3 separate regions of the Homo sapiens genome follow, and regions 1 and 2 are each linked to region 3. The links are contacts of gene promoters, found by promoter capture Hi-C in blood cells and fetal thymus (Javierre and others, 2016). All regions are on one chromosome and are shown on one strand. The core of a region is centred on a gene start or on the middle of the fragment in contact, and the rest is flanking DNA. Distances in the headings are between cores, read along the strand shown. Region 1 holds the start of NUMB (NUMB endocytic adaptor protein). Region 2 overlaps LINC02288 (long intergenic non-protein coding RNA 2288). Region 3 holds the start of TMED10 (transmembrane p24 trafficking protein 10).

Region 1 (3,996 bases), core at 1,445-3,944, 1.7 Mb after region 3:
GGGCGGATCACCTGAGGTTGGGAGTTCGAGACTAGCCTGACCAACATGGAGAAACCCCGTCTCATGCCTATAATCCCAGCTACTCGGGAGGCTAAGGCAGAAGAATCGCTTGAACCTGGGAGGCGTAGGTTGCGATGAGCCGAGATAGCACCATTGCACTCCAGCCTGGGCAACAAGAGAGAAACTCCGTCTCACAGAAAAAAAAAAAAAAAAAAAAAGTTGCTAATGGCTGTCTGGTCAATTGGCAGGGGTCAGCCAGGAGTGGATCTGGAAGCTGGAGAACTCTCAATACGCCACTTCAGTTTATTGACGACATTTATAATTGCAACCGAAGTTGACTGATTTCTGCTAAATGAAAGTTTGCGCTTTGCCCTTTAGCATTGAGGCTCCTGGAAAGAACTTCAATGAAATTGGATGCATTGAGACCAAAGAAAAGAAGGGGACATTTTTATCTCTCTGATACCTTTCTCCCCAGGGCTTGGAAACACTTCTTAAACACAACCTCTAATGTTGGTGTTTTGTAAGTACTACCCCTATGAATAAAGCTAGCAGAGATAAGCTTCTCCTTGCAGGAAGTGAGCTGGAGAAGTGGAAAAGTTTACAGAGAAAACTCTACAACAAAGACTTAACCCTTCCCGGGTAACCACGAATGTGAGCGTCTGCCCCTCCTTTGCTTTCTACTGCGCAACCAAACTGTGCACAAGCGTGAATCAACCTTAACCGTCACGTCTCTTGCCAGTTAGCTTAACAGACACTTTTAGCAGCCTATCATAACTTCGAATTGCCCAACCCTCAACCAATTACAACTAAAGCTTGGGCTAGGACGCTCCAGGTCCGGGCGGGGGCGAATACCGGGTTTAGGAAAAGGGGCGGTAAAGAGCGATGACGGGCGGGTATACTAAACCAATCAGAGAGGAGAGCTGCCGCCCCACTATCCAATGGATAGGTTAGAAGTATGAAAGAGGGTGGGCCTGTTGTCATGGGGGAGGTGGTGGCGCTTGGTGGCCACTGGCGGCCGAGGTAGAGGCAGTGGCGCTTGAGTTGGTCGGGGGCAGCGGCAGGTGAGTGCCGGTAACGCGGGTCAGAGATCTGGGGGCCGTCGCGGGGCGGAATCTCCAGCTCAGCACTCCGGAGGCGGAGGCCGGAGGAAGGGGGCCTGGACTTCGGGTCGGGGCCCGGGCCGGGGCCGGGGCCAGGGCGGAGGCGGCGGGGGCGGCGGCGAGTTCGCGCTGACTGGGCTAGGGGGAGAGGGGCTGGGCTTCTGGCTGCGGAGTTCTCCCGAGGAAGGTAGGCTACGGCCGGACCCGCGCGGGTCAGGCCAGGAGGTCCCTTGGGACGTCCAGCTGCTCCGGTCTAGCGCGCTGACCGGCGGCCACTGTGTGAGGAGTAGGTATCTGAGGAAACGGAAGCGGCCAGGGTCCCAGAGAGGGGGTGACCTGTAACGACCTGCTTCAAGGGCGGGGTGTCTTGGGAATACCCAGGACGGCTTGGGTGCCAGGGAGAAAAGGAATCCGGGAAGCCCGGCAGCGGCCGGTGAGGAGAGAGCGGGGTGGGGGGCAGGGGAACTGGGAGTGGCCCCGGTCCGAGGGAGGTAGGAAGGCCGAGGGTGGCCAGGGTCCCGGGTGACAGGGAGCAGACTTGCTCCAAGTAGGGGCGTCTGAGGAAACGCTCGGAGGGGGTTGGGGACCCTCCTGAGAAAAGCGGCTGTCCAAGGGAGGGGGCTCCTGGAGAGATGAGGAGCAGCAGGTCTTCGGAGGGTCGGACGAGTAGAGATCTTGCACCGCCTGGGGGAAGAACCGGAGCTCCCTGCGCCCCCATAGCTGAGCTGGGATGGGAGACCCAACTGGCCTGGCCGCTCCGGCTCTGAGGATCCCTAAGGGACCAGGAAAGAAGTCCTCGAGGAGTGGCTCGCGTTTGAGACCGGGGTGAGGAGCCAGCAGGGGAGTGGAAGTTCCCTCGGTCGGAGAGGAGTCATGCAAAATGGGACGGAGATGGGCGGAGGTGGGAGAGAATCCCTATAGGAGGGGATAAGGTAGAGAAAGAAAGTTGCCCGAGGAGAGAGTAATGGTTTCGTGGAACTGGCTAGGACAGTAGATATATGAGAAATTAACAGTGGAGCCATGTAGGTTCACAGGTCTTCACAAATAGAAGAAACTTCAGTTTCGTAATTAATATCAAGATGACATCTAGGACCAAAGCAAAGCTCCTAAAAGCAAGGTTAAGTGACTTGTTTTAGAAAAGAAATTTGTTTTAGGATGATGGCAGTAATATTAGGAAATAGGTTCATTGACAGGGTGGGGAATTTGGGAGGGAAAAGGGGAGGAGTAGCTGAACTAAAGGAGTAGAAGTAAATACTTATCAGAAAGAGGGTAGGCATACTCGGCTAAAGTGAAAAGAAGTTTTGAGTTCTAGTTCCACCACTTAGCTAAGTTTCTGTGCAGTTTCCTCATCAGAATACTAATAGTAATAGTTCCTACTTTATAAGGTGGTGGTGGTGTTTTTTTTTTCATGTGAGTTGGTATTTGTAGAGCTTTTAGGATAGTGACTGGCACATAGTCGTGTGTACTGGATTGTTCAATAGACGATAAAGACCTGACTTCTTAAATAGAAGGTAAAGACCTGGCTCGCAGATGTTAGCTTGCATCAAAATCACCTGGAGGGCTTGGTAAAATGTAGATTGCTTGGCCCCACCTGGGGGTTTCAGTAGGTCTGGGGTGGGGCCCAATAATTTATATTTATCTCAAATGATGATCACGTTGGTCAGAGGACCACACTTTAAGAACCACTTACTTTAATGAAACCGGTAATAATGGTAGCAACTTTAAAATACCTGCTAAAGAGACAGGTAGAGGCAAATTGCCTAAAAGATCCTATTATAAAGGATACTCATTTTTAGCCTGTGTTTTTCAAACTGTGGATTGTGATTTATTAGTAATTTATAAAATCAATGTTGTGAGTTTTTACCTGCATTGAAAATAAAATGTAGAACAGAATAAACTGACATTGCATTTGGTAAGGAAAAGTATTGTTTTGGGAAACTTTTCTCCTACATGTATGTACTAGGTCACAATGTAAAGTGTATTTCTTTTTTTGAGTTCCTGGCCAAAGGATAAAATATATTTCTTACAGTTAAAAAAGTCTGAAAGCTGGGTGCGGTGGCTCACGCCTATAATCCCAGCACTTTGGGAGGCCAAGGCGGGCGGATCACTTGAGGTCAGGAGTTCAAGATCAGCCTGACCAACATGGTGAGACCCCCATCTTTAAAAAAAATACAAAATTAGCTGGGCGTGGTGGCGCGTGCCTGTAATCCCAGCTACTTGGAAGGCTGAGGCTGGAGAATTGCTTGAACCCCGGAGGTGGAGGTTGCAGTGAGCCGAGATCATGCCATTGCATTCCAGTCTGGGCAACAAGAGTGAAACTCCATCTTAAAAAAAAAAAAAAAGGTTTTTTTGGGAGTATTATATTCCATTAAATTTCTTCAGTTTCTGATTTGGTTCCTCCTGTGTTTGTCTTGTCACATATTGTGTTATGCCTCTGACTCTGGAACTTTTTTGGATATTGAGAATCTTTGGCATGAGAACTTAAGGGAATCTGAGGCAGAGAAATTGAATGGTGTTTCTCAGATGTTGTCCGCTTTTGTTTCACTTGTGCCCTCTTGTTCACCCTTTCTTTTTTATCACTGTACCGTAAAGCATTGTTTGTAAAAGCCTGAGTATACACAGACATATTGACAGTAAACAACACTGAAATGGACTGACTTGAGAAAATTTCATGTATAGAAAATAAGCAAAAACAAAGTAAGAAACACTGCAAAAGAGAAAAATGAAAAGATATTTCCTTTTTAGAGAGTAAAAATATTAAGTATTTCTTATCCTTACACTAATATAAAACATATACAGATATTTTTAAAGGAACTAGATATACAGTTTCTAGGTCTTTGTAGAGAAAAGAAATAGTGGTAATATGTGACAGCAAAATGCACCTGGGATAGAGGCT
Region 2 (4,133 bases), core at 1,143-3,642, 1.9 Mb before region 3:
TATAGCTCCAGCCTGGGAAAGCTTCCAAAAGTTTCCTGAACCAAAGATAATAATAATAAAAGAGGTGAGGGAGGGGAGAATCGTGGGCACACAATTCTGTTGATTAATGTGCAAGGGAACAGACTAGGATTGTAGGGAAAGGAAAAAGAAAGGCTTTTCCAGGTCAGTTTAAACATTTGTGTTGTCTTCTTTAAAGGCAATTTCAAAATAGTTGGCCTCCCCAAAGCGATTTTTTGGAATCTACCCAGAGGGCAGAAAATGAACCCTTCCTTCCCCCATCTGGAAAGTCTTCACACCAGTGGCCCCACTCATTCCTGAGCTCTGGCTTTAGAAGGACTTTCCCAACCTTCCAAGATTCCCTGCCCTCCCTCACCCGCTGACCTATAGGGAGTTATGTTTGCTCCACCCCAAGCAGCTGCATTCCAGCTGTGGAGCTATTATGAAACATTTAGGAATCCTCTGGCTAGAAAGGTAAATGAGGAATATGCCCTAATGACAGCTGAAGGCTGGCTAAAATCTGTAAACAGAGAAGCAGCAAGGAACAAATGCTTGACAGAGGATTCCCTTTACAATTCTATTGTGCAGAAGAGTCAGCTGTTAACTTACAGAAGACCTTCTAGATGGTCTCACAGATAAAAGTGCTGATCAGCTTGACCCCCTACTGTGAATCGCAAGAAATGAAATTCAAACCTATTTGTGAAGATTCAAAAATATTTTCACTTACTCATGATCTCTCATCTTTTTAATTAAAGCACAACATCTTGCTCAAAACAAGCCTTTGAAACAACAAAATAAACAGAACCTTAATTTAGGGATTTGCCAACTGATCTTGACTACTGCTGGCAGGTTATAGCAGCCAGTTAGAAGCAGAACATGGGGTTCCCTGCCCTTCCGAAGATGGTGTCTGCCTGAGGACTCAGAAAAGAGGGGGGCCACAGAGACCCATGAGGATCCTTGAAATACACAGAAGTTGGCCAGACAGGGCAGGGCTGAGCAAATGGCTTTTTAGGCAGCTGAGGCCCTCTGCAGCTGTCAGAACAACTGCCACCAAGCTCTCCTGGTTGAGGTTGCAGCAAGTGCTGCAGTGTTGACCTTATCTTCCGAGACTGCGTTGTGGACACTCAGGTTAACGGCAGTCCACCTTACTATCTAGTTCTAGAACAGTCAGCGGCACCTGCCTAGCTACACGCTGTCTCACCCAAACCATTTCATTTCCTGGGTCTTGCGATTCTGGACTTTTCCACTAGCAACAACTGCCATCCAGCCAGACAGCAACAATGAACCACCACAGGTATGCTTTGAGAATCCAGTATCCAGGGTGGGGAACTCCATATAATCCTCCATTCACGCATGGTGCTAAAAGCAGATATGGAGAATTAGTAGAAGAGGTGCCCTGTGTCCCAGGGGGCCGCCCAGCCACAGTGAAAGCATCTCTCTCTCCCCACTTCTTCCTGCTCCAGTCGTTCTACCTCAAACACTCCCTACAGAGCACCTTTTAACACCTCTGGAGCCACCACTGCCACGTCACCCCTCACCCCCACCCACTGGCCTAACCACCCAATTCTCAGCCAGGTCTTTTGCAGAGCACAGCCTCCATGGTTGCCATGGAGGGTTTCTCCCCCCAGCAGTACCCCTTGGGGCTTTGAGACCCTATAAGGAAAGCACCAGGAAACCCCAAAACATTCTCCCTCCTGAAAACAATGGTTCCCAGTGTCTATGCCAGACACACTCACACCACCCAAAATAGACTCATTGTCCTCTTGCACAACATCCAGGAATTTGGTGAAACTCATCATTTTTCAGGTTACCGATAATGCAAGTTTGGAAACTGAAACAGGAAGGAACACAGGCTGAAAAGCTTTTATCCAGCCCACAGCATTTCTCTCTCCAGATGCAAGATAGTTTTTTTTTTTTTTTTCCCAGCAGTACTTTGGTGGGGTTAAAATTAGCTGGCAGCATTCTGGTCACATGCTAGACAACAAAACAAAAGGGAGTTGTTCCCCCTGCCGCTCCTGAACTGGCCCACGACAGAGTTTCCTAATCCATGGATTTCTGGGAAGCTGGCTCTCCGGGCCCTGGTATGGAGGGGCTACACCAAGGACTCCCCTCCGGTTATCATCCCTGCTATAATGGGGCGACACAGACGAGGTCAAGGCTGTTTGGAATCTTGGAGCTTGCCTCGATCTGGAAAGGCACTCAAGGGTCCAAAATGGCTTTTGTAAATCTTCTCACCAAAGCCAACAAAGAAGCAAACACTACAAAAACACTGAGAGAGAGAAGGGTAACATCTGACACATGAACATGGGCATCCATTGACTTGTGGGGTGGTGGCTGCTCTTGGCATGATTAAAAAAAAAATAGCCGGGTGTGGTGGCTCATGCCTGTAATCCCAGAAACTTTGGGAAGCTGAGGAGGGCAGATCGCCTGAGGTCAGGAGTTCGAGACCAGCCCGGCCAACATGGCAAAACCCTGTCTCTACTAAAAATACAAAAAAAGTAGCCAGGCATGATAGCACGTGCCTGTAATCCCAGCTACTCGGGAGGCTGAGGCAAGAGAATTGCTTGAACCCGGGAGGCGGAGGTTGCAGTGAGCTGAGACTGCCCCACTGCACTCCAGCCTGGGCGACAGAGGAAGACACCGCCTCAAAAAACAAAACAAAACAAAAATAAATAAATATAATACATCTGGGCTAGAGGTGGCGAACATTTAGGATAGATTCTGTATCTCTTGACCTTGATGACAGGGACATGTCAGGGTCTGCTTTGTTCATCCAGCTTAAAACTGTCACCAGAAGCCCTGGATAAAAATGCAGCCTCTGATTCACACACGGTCAGGAAACATGCCTTGTGCTCAGTACAGAAACATGTCCGTCAACCTGGGAAAGGAATCACCACCACGAAATATGCTTTTGGCTTGCCAAAGCTTAGCAGCTGTGAGAGCCAAAAACCCAGCTGCCTGGACTGTCTGGGGAAGTTGGCGGGAGGGAGGGGGGGTTGCTTTCTGAATCACCTGATTTCTGCCTCTAACTCTAGTTTAATTCCAAGTCGAAACCTATCTTGAAATGTCTCAAGAGCCTACTGCTCCTAAAAATTGTAGGTTTTAGCTAACCCTTCAGCTCTGTGCCTGCTGGCAAGGTGAAGCAGATGGCGTTTGTTGATTATTTATTTGGAAGGGGCTACTTTGGAATCAGGAAATTCCAGCGAGACAGAGTGCATCGCCTTGGCCAGAGCTGCCGTGACAATCACGAGCAGACACCCAGAGACAGTCAAGTTCAAAGAAATTGCAGCTAAGCCCCAGGAACTTGGGGCATTTTCAGTCTTTCTCGTCTCCTGGCCTCCATGTTCACCATGCACTTAGGAAGAAATGTTTCGTTCAGTTCAACATTCTGTGGTCTTCAAGTGTTTGAATACAAGGGCCCACATTCAAGGTCCCGCTTTGTCAAAAGGGCTTCACGAAGCTAACAGGCCTCTGACTTGTGTTTCATCCTGAAGCCCCTCATTATACAGACAGATCAAAACAGAAATCCCCCCTGCCTTAATGCCCAGCACATAAAGTCCTCTTTAATTAACATACACCATTTTTCAGTGAAACAGCCTCAAGGTGTTAAAAGTGCATAAAGGTCTGAAAGCTGAAGCCCAAGATAAACAGTGTGCCGAAATATATTTAGCAGAAAATATTGAAAGCCACAGGAAAAATAAGTTCCCTTCCTGGGATGTTAACGAATGTTTAGGTTCAGGAAACCTTCAGGAAGTAGCGAGCCGAGAAGGAATACTGCTCACCGTTTTTACCCCCAATGTAAATAAATCACTAAACCTCTTTGGTTTCCATAGGCCTGGGCTGGAGTGGAATATTTCATTTTTTCCCCATTAAACAGGCCACCCGGAGTGTTGGCATTACAGGCCTGAAAATATACCAAATCTGAATGTGCTATTTTGTTTCTGTACATTAAATCAGACTGTGTTTCAAACGGCAGTTCGTGCTAAATGGGGGGCTGATGATCCAGACTGTGCACCCTCACACACCTGAAATTGGCGCAGCGTAAATGATAGATCTGTTTCACCTTGGATCTCCCCGTGTCTTGTCTCCTACAGGAACACACCCTCTGTCGTTGTTGCCCAAGGTGATGTCATGTT
Region 3 (4,087 bases), core at 869-3,368:
CTGGCCTGCTTTACAGTTCTTTAACAAATGTCATGAAGTATTTTTTCTTTAACAGTATAATTATTTGGCCTCTCAGAACCTCGGTTTCCTCATCTGTAAAATGAACAGATTGTCCAGACTATTTCACAGGGTTTTTGAAAATGTCAGAGGAGATCATTATGATATGTGAAAATATTTTAAATTGCATTATCTATTATGTAAATGTAAGATGGAAATTTAAAGGAAACACATACACAGTTTTTTCATGGGTTGAGATCTCTTGCTATTGGTCAGCAGAGCCTCAGGAATGCAAGTAGACAATGAATTAGATAACTGCTTATACTGATTCCCTGCATTGGCAGGGAAAAGGCCAATGCAAATTATCAGGATGTACTGTGTGGACTACCAATCTTATCTTAGATCAGTGATACAACAATCCAACTAAATGCTCCTAAGTGGACACCTCATAAAATAATTATTGTATGGCATTTGTCAAAATTTTAAATGCTTTACAGCTCCTTTGTTTGTTCTTGTTTTGTCTGTGGGATTTCATTTCTAGGAAAATAACTAAATGGACTAAGTTTAAAAAAAAAAAACACCAATCATGTACATTACTAAGGGCAGACAGTCCATCTTCTGGATATTTCTGAAGATGCTCAATAAACGTTAATCAAAGTAGGTAATGATTCCCAACATGGGCTATTGTGTCTTCCACGTTTATTTTCTACACTTGATGTTAGCCAAAAGGCCAAGGAGCAATTCCATTTTCTTTCTTTCCTTCTTTCTTTTCTGAGACAAGTCTCACTCCGTCGCCCAGGCTGGAGTGCAGTGGCGCCATCTCAGCTCACTGCAACCTCCATCTCCCGGGTTCAAGCAATTCTCTGCCTCAGCCTCCTGAGTGGCTGGGATTACAGGCGCCCGCCACCAAGCCCAGCTAATTTTTTTGTATTTTTAGTAGAGACGGGGTTTCACCATCTTGGCCAGGCTGGTCTTGAACTCCTGACCTCGTGATCCACCCGCCTCAGCCTCCCAAAGTGCTGGGATTACAGGTGTGAGCCACCGCGCCTGGCCGTTTATTTTAATATATTCTTCAGCTCTGAATATTTGCTAGTATCCCAGTAATAGTTTGTTAAATCAATAAACGTGTTGACATACATGCATAGCATAATGTCTGGCACACAGTAGGTACTCCATTGAATGAATGCATGAATTATTACCGTGTCAATTTGCTTGTCTATTTGCAAATGTTAATAGTTAATTTGATCCCTAAAGTGTTTGTGAACTTAAAACACACACATACGCACTTTCCCTGACAACGCTTATCTGCTAACCCCTTAATTATGTTCATCTGAGACTGGACCAAAACATGTTGTTTTATTCAATTTAAATACCAAATTCAAATTTATTTTGAATATAGCTTAGAACACATTCAATGTTTGCTAAAATAATAATAATAATAATAATAATAATAATAATAATAATACCATGTACATTCAGTTAGCCAGACAATTACTCCAGCCCAAATACCCTGCTATGGGACATGAACCGGATGTCTGCCCGGCACACATTCATCAGGTGACCCCTAAAACTTCTTCTCTAAGGTCCACACTGTCTAATAGCCAAGTTGAAATCTTTCCTCGAAATTTTCCTCTCTAGTGTCTCAGTGCCCCAGGTGTCATCAAGGTGTCAAAGGCGCTTGGGAGTGCCTGCAAACCGCCCCATCCCCGGAGACACAGCCTCATTCCCCGCCCTCGCGCCTAGGCGGCCGGTGGGCGGGCCCAGCGAAGGGCCTTGTGGCTGTTTCCTATTGGGGCTTGGTTGCTATGGTGTCACTCGCCTTTAAACTCGTGGGTACATCTTTCGGAAATTAAAGGAGAATTACTTCCAGGGCTGCCCATACTTGCCATGGCCGACTCAGTAGTCACTAACTTCAACAAAAATAAAACTGTTGCAATAGTATTCTATTAAAGCTTCTTTAACTGCTTAAACTTGCGGTTTTGACATGGTACCTATCCTTTCTTCCCTTTTCAAAAGATTCGCTATAGAGTCTTTCTCTACATGCCAGTCTCCAAAATGGCGCGGACGGCATCAGAAGGTCAGAGGTGAGTCACGTGGGTCCCCCCGGTTCCGGCGCGGTTGAGGCCTTCGGTGGTGAACGAGTCTCCAGCACCATGTCTGGTTTGTCTGGCCCACCAGCCCGGCGCGGCCCTTTTCCGTTAGCGTTGCTGCTTTTGTTCCTGCTCGGCCCCAGATTGGTCCTTGCCATCTCCTTCCATCTGCCCATTAACTCTCGCAAGTGCCTCCGTGAGGAGATTCACAAGGACCTGCTAGTGACTGGCGCGTACGAGATCTCCGACCAGTCTGGGGGCGCTGGCGGCCTGCGCAGCCACCTCAAGGTGCGGCATTGGGCGACGTGGGGCCGGGAGGGAAGACGGCAGGCTTAGGCGAGGGGAGGCTCGGGTTCGGGGGAGTCGGGCCGGCGGAGGCCTGGGAGTTGTTCTGGCCTCCCGGGAGCGCAAAGGACGTGCGGTGGAGCCCGCCCCCTCACCCCGCTGGTTGCCTGTCGCGGGGCGGGGCGGGTCACCAACGCCTGGGAACCCCAAGAAGGGCTGCGAGGCTTTGGCGGATGTGGTGACACCTGAGCTGGGGCGGTTGTCAACGTCCTATACCAGTTTTGGTCTCAGATACATTGAACCGTAATTTGGTTCTCCAAATAAATGTTGGGGTGTTGAATATTTATACGGATTGGCATCATAAGATACCGCGATACCTGCAGGAAAGTAAAGGAGACAGAGCTAACCGTGATTAATAAAATGTTATTTATTGAGCATCTGCTGTGTCAGTTACTGTGCTACTTTGCATATATTACCATTTGGTTCATGCACTACCCTATGAAGTAGGTAGGTACTGTTAGCCCCATTTTACAAATGAGGAAACTGAGACTCAGAGGTAGGATAAACTAGTAAGTGTCACAGATGGAATAGATTCTTTTTTTTTTTTCAAAATTATTATTATACTTTAAGTTCTAGGGTACATGCGCACAACTTTCAGGTTTGTTACATATGTATACATGTGCCGTGTTGGTGTGCTGCACCCATTAACTCGTCATTTACATTAGGTATGTCTCCTAATGCTATCCCTCCCACCTCCCCCCACCCCACGACAGGCCCCGGTGTGTGATGTTCCCCACCCTGTGTCCAAGTGTTCTCATTGTTCAATTCCCACCTATGAGTGAGAACATGCGGTGTTTGGTTTTCTGTCCTTGCGATGGAATAGATTCTTACTTAGTTTGGTAGTTAAGTATGTTGAGGGAAAAGCGCTGCAACCTTATTCCTTCCTTGTTTTAAATTTGTAATTTCTGTAGTTGATTAAAGTCGATTATTGGTTACAAAATGGTCTCAGTCTCTAGTCCTTTTTCTTTGGTATGCCAGAATCTGGACTTGGCTCTTTTATGTAAATACCAACTATGCTCTTGGATGGTGACAACTACTGCCATAATACCAGTTTGATTCTGTTTTGTAGCTAAGAGTAGCCTGGCCTGGTCTTTGAGACATTAATATAATTTGATATCTGTCAGTATTTGGTTGCATTTTAGGTAATTTTATTCATTCACAATAAGCAAAGTGTCTTTTTTTTTCTTTGTAACACAATGGGGCTTTTGTTATACTAAATAGAAACATTTTTACTTTTTTTTTTTTTTTTTTTTTTTTTGAGACGGAGTCTTGCTCTGTCGTCCAGGCTGGAGTGCTGTGGCGCGATCTCGGCTCACTGCAGCCTCTGCCTCCCGGTTTCAAGCAATTCTCCTGCCTCAGCCTTCCGAGTAGCTAGGACTACAGGCGCCAGCCACCACACCCAGCTAATTTTTGTATTTTAGTAGAGATGACGGTTCACCATGTTGGCCAGGATGGTCTTGATCTCTTGACCTCGTGATCTGCCCGCCTCGGCCTCCCAAAGTGCTGGGATTACAGCCGTAAGCCACCGCGCCTGGCCTCGTTTTTACTTTTTAAAAGGGTTTCAGATATAATAAGACCATAACTTATGTTAAAGTAGTGGAACCCAGTAGTGTGGTAATACATGTAATTTATTTCTACTTTATTTGGGAGAGACA

What was found. The method cuts DNA at HindIII sites, captures the fragments that hold promoters and counts their contacts. A CHiCAGO score of 5 or more calls a contact.
Region 1: a fragment that was not itself captured here is called in contact with the fragment with the promoter of TMED10 in region 3 in 1 of 17 cell types (fetal thymus); the score reaches 9.2 in fetal thymus.
Region 2: a contact is called between a fragment that was not itself captured here and the fragment with the promoter of TMED10 in region 3, in 2 of 17 cell types (M1 macrophages and M0 macrophages). The highest score is 5.2, in M1 macrophages.

Annotation. Positions count from the first base shown.
Region 1 is chr14:73,455,558-73,459,553 of GRCh38, reverse strand. It overlaps NUMB (NUMB endocytic adaptor protein), which reads left to right and starts at 1,008. Exons shown (of 13, transcript NM_001005743.2): 1 at 1,008-1,061. RefSeq lists enhancers at 1-145, 146-679 and silencers at 665-864, 1,055-1,144, 1,155-1,284. The HindIII fragment of the contact is 3,759 bases long and covers 815-3,996 here.
Region 2 is chr14:77,041,205-77,045,337 of GRCh38, reverse strand. It overlaps LINC02288 (long intergenic non-protein coding RNA 2288), which reads right to left. Exons shown (of 4, transcript NR_110554.1): 1 at 4,061-4,133. Among named protein-coding and RNA genes, the nearest start is that of LINC02288, 2.2 kb to the right of the region's middle. RefSeq lists enhancers at 271-781, 328-4,133, 4,086-4,133. The HindIII fragment of the contact is 1,064 bases long and covers 1,861-2,924 here.
Region 3 is chr14:75,174,643-75,178,729 of GRCh38, reverse strand. It overlaps TMED10 (transmembrane p24 trafficking protein 10), which reads left to right and starts at 2,118. Exons shown (of 5, transcript NM_006827.6): 1 at 2,118-2,375. The coding sequence starts at 2,151. RefSeq lists enhancers at 1,968-2,207, 1,722-2,294. The HindIII fragment of the contact is 2,239 bases long and covers 1,952-4,087 here.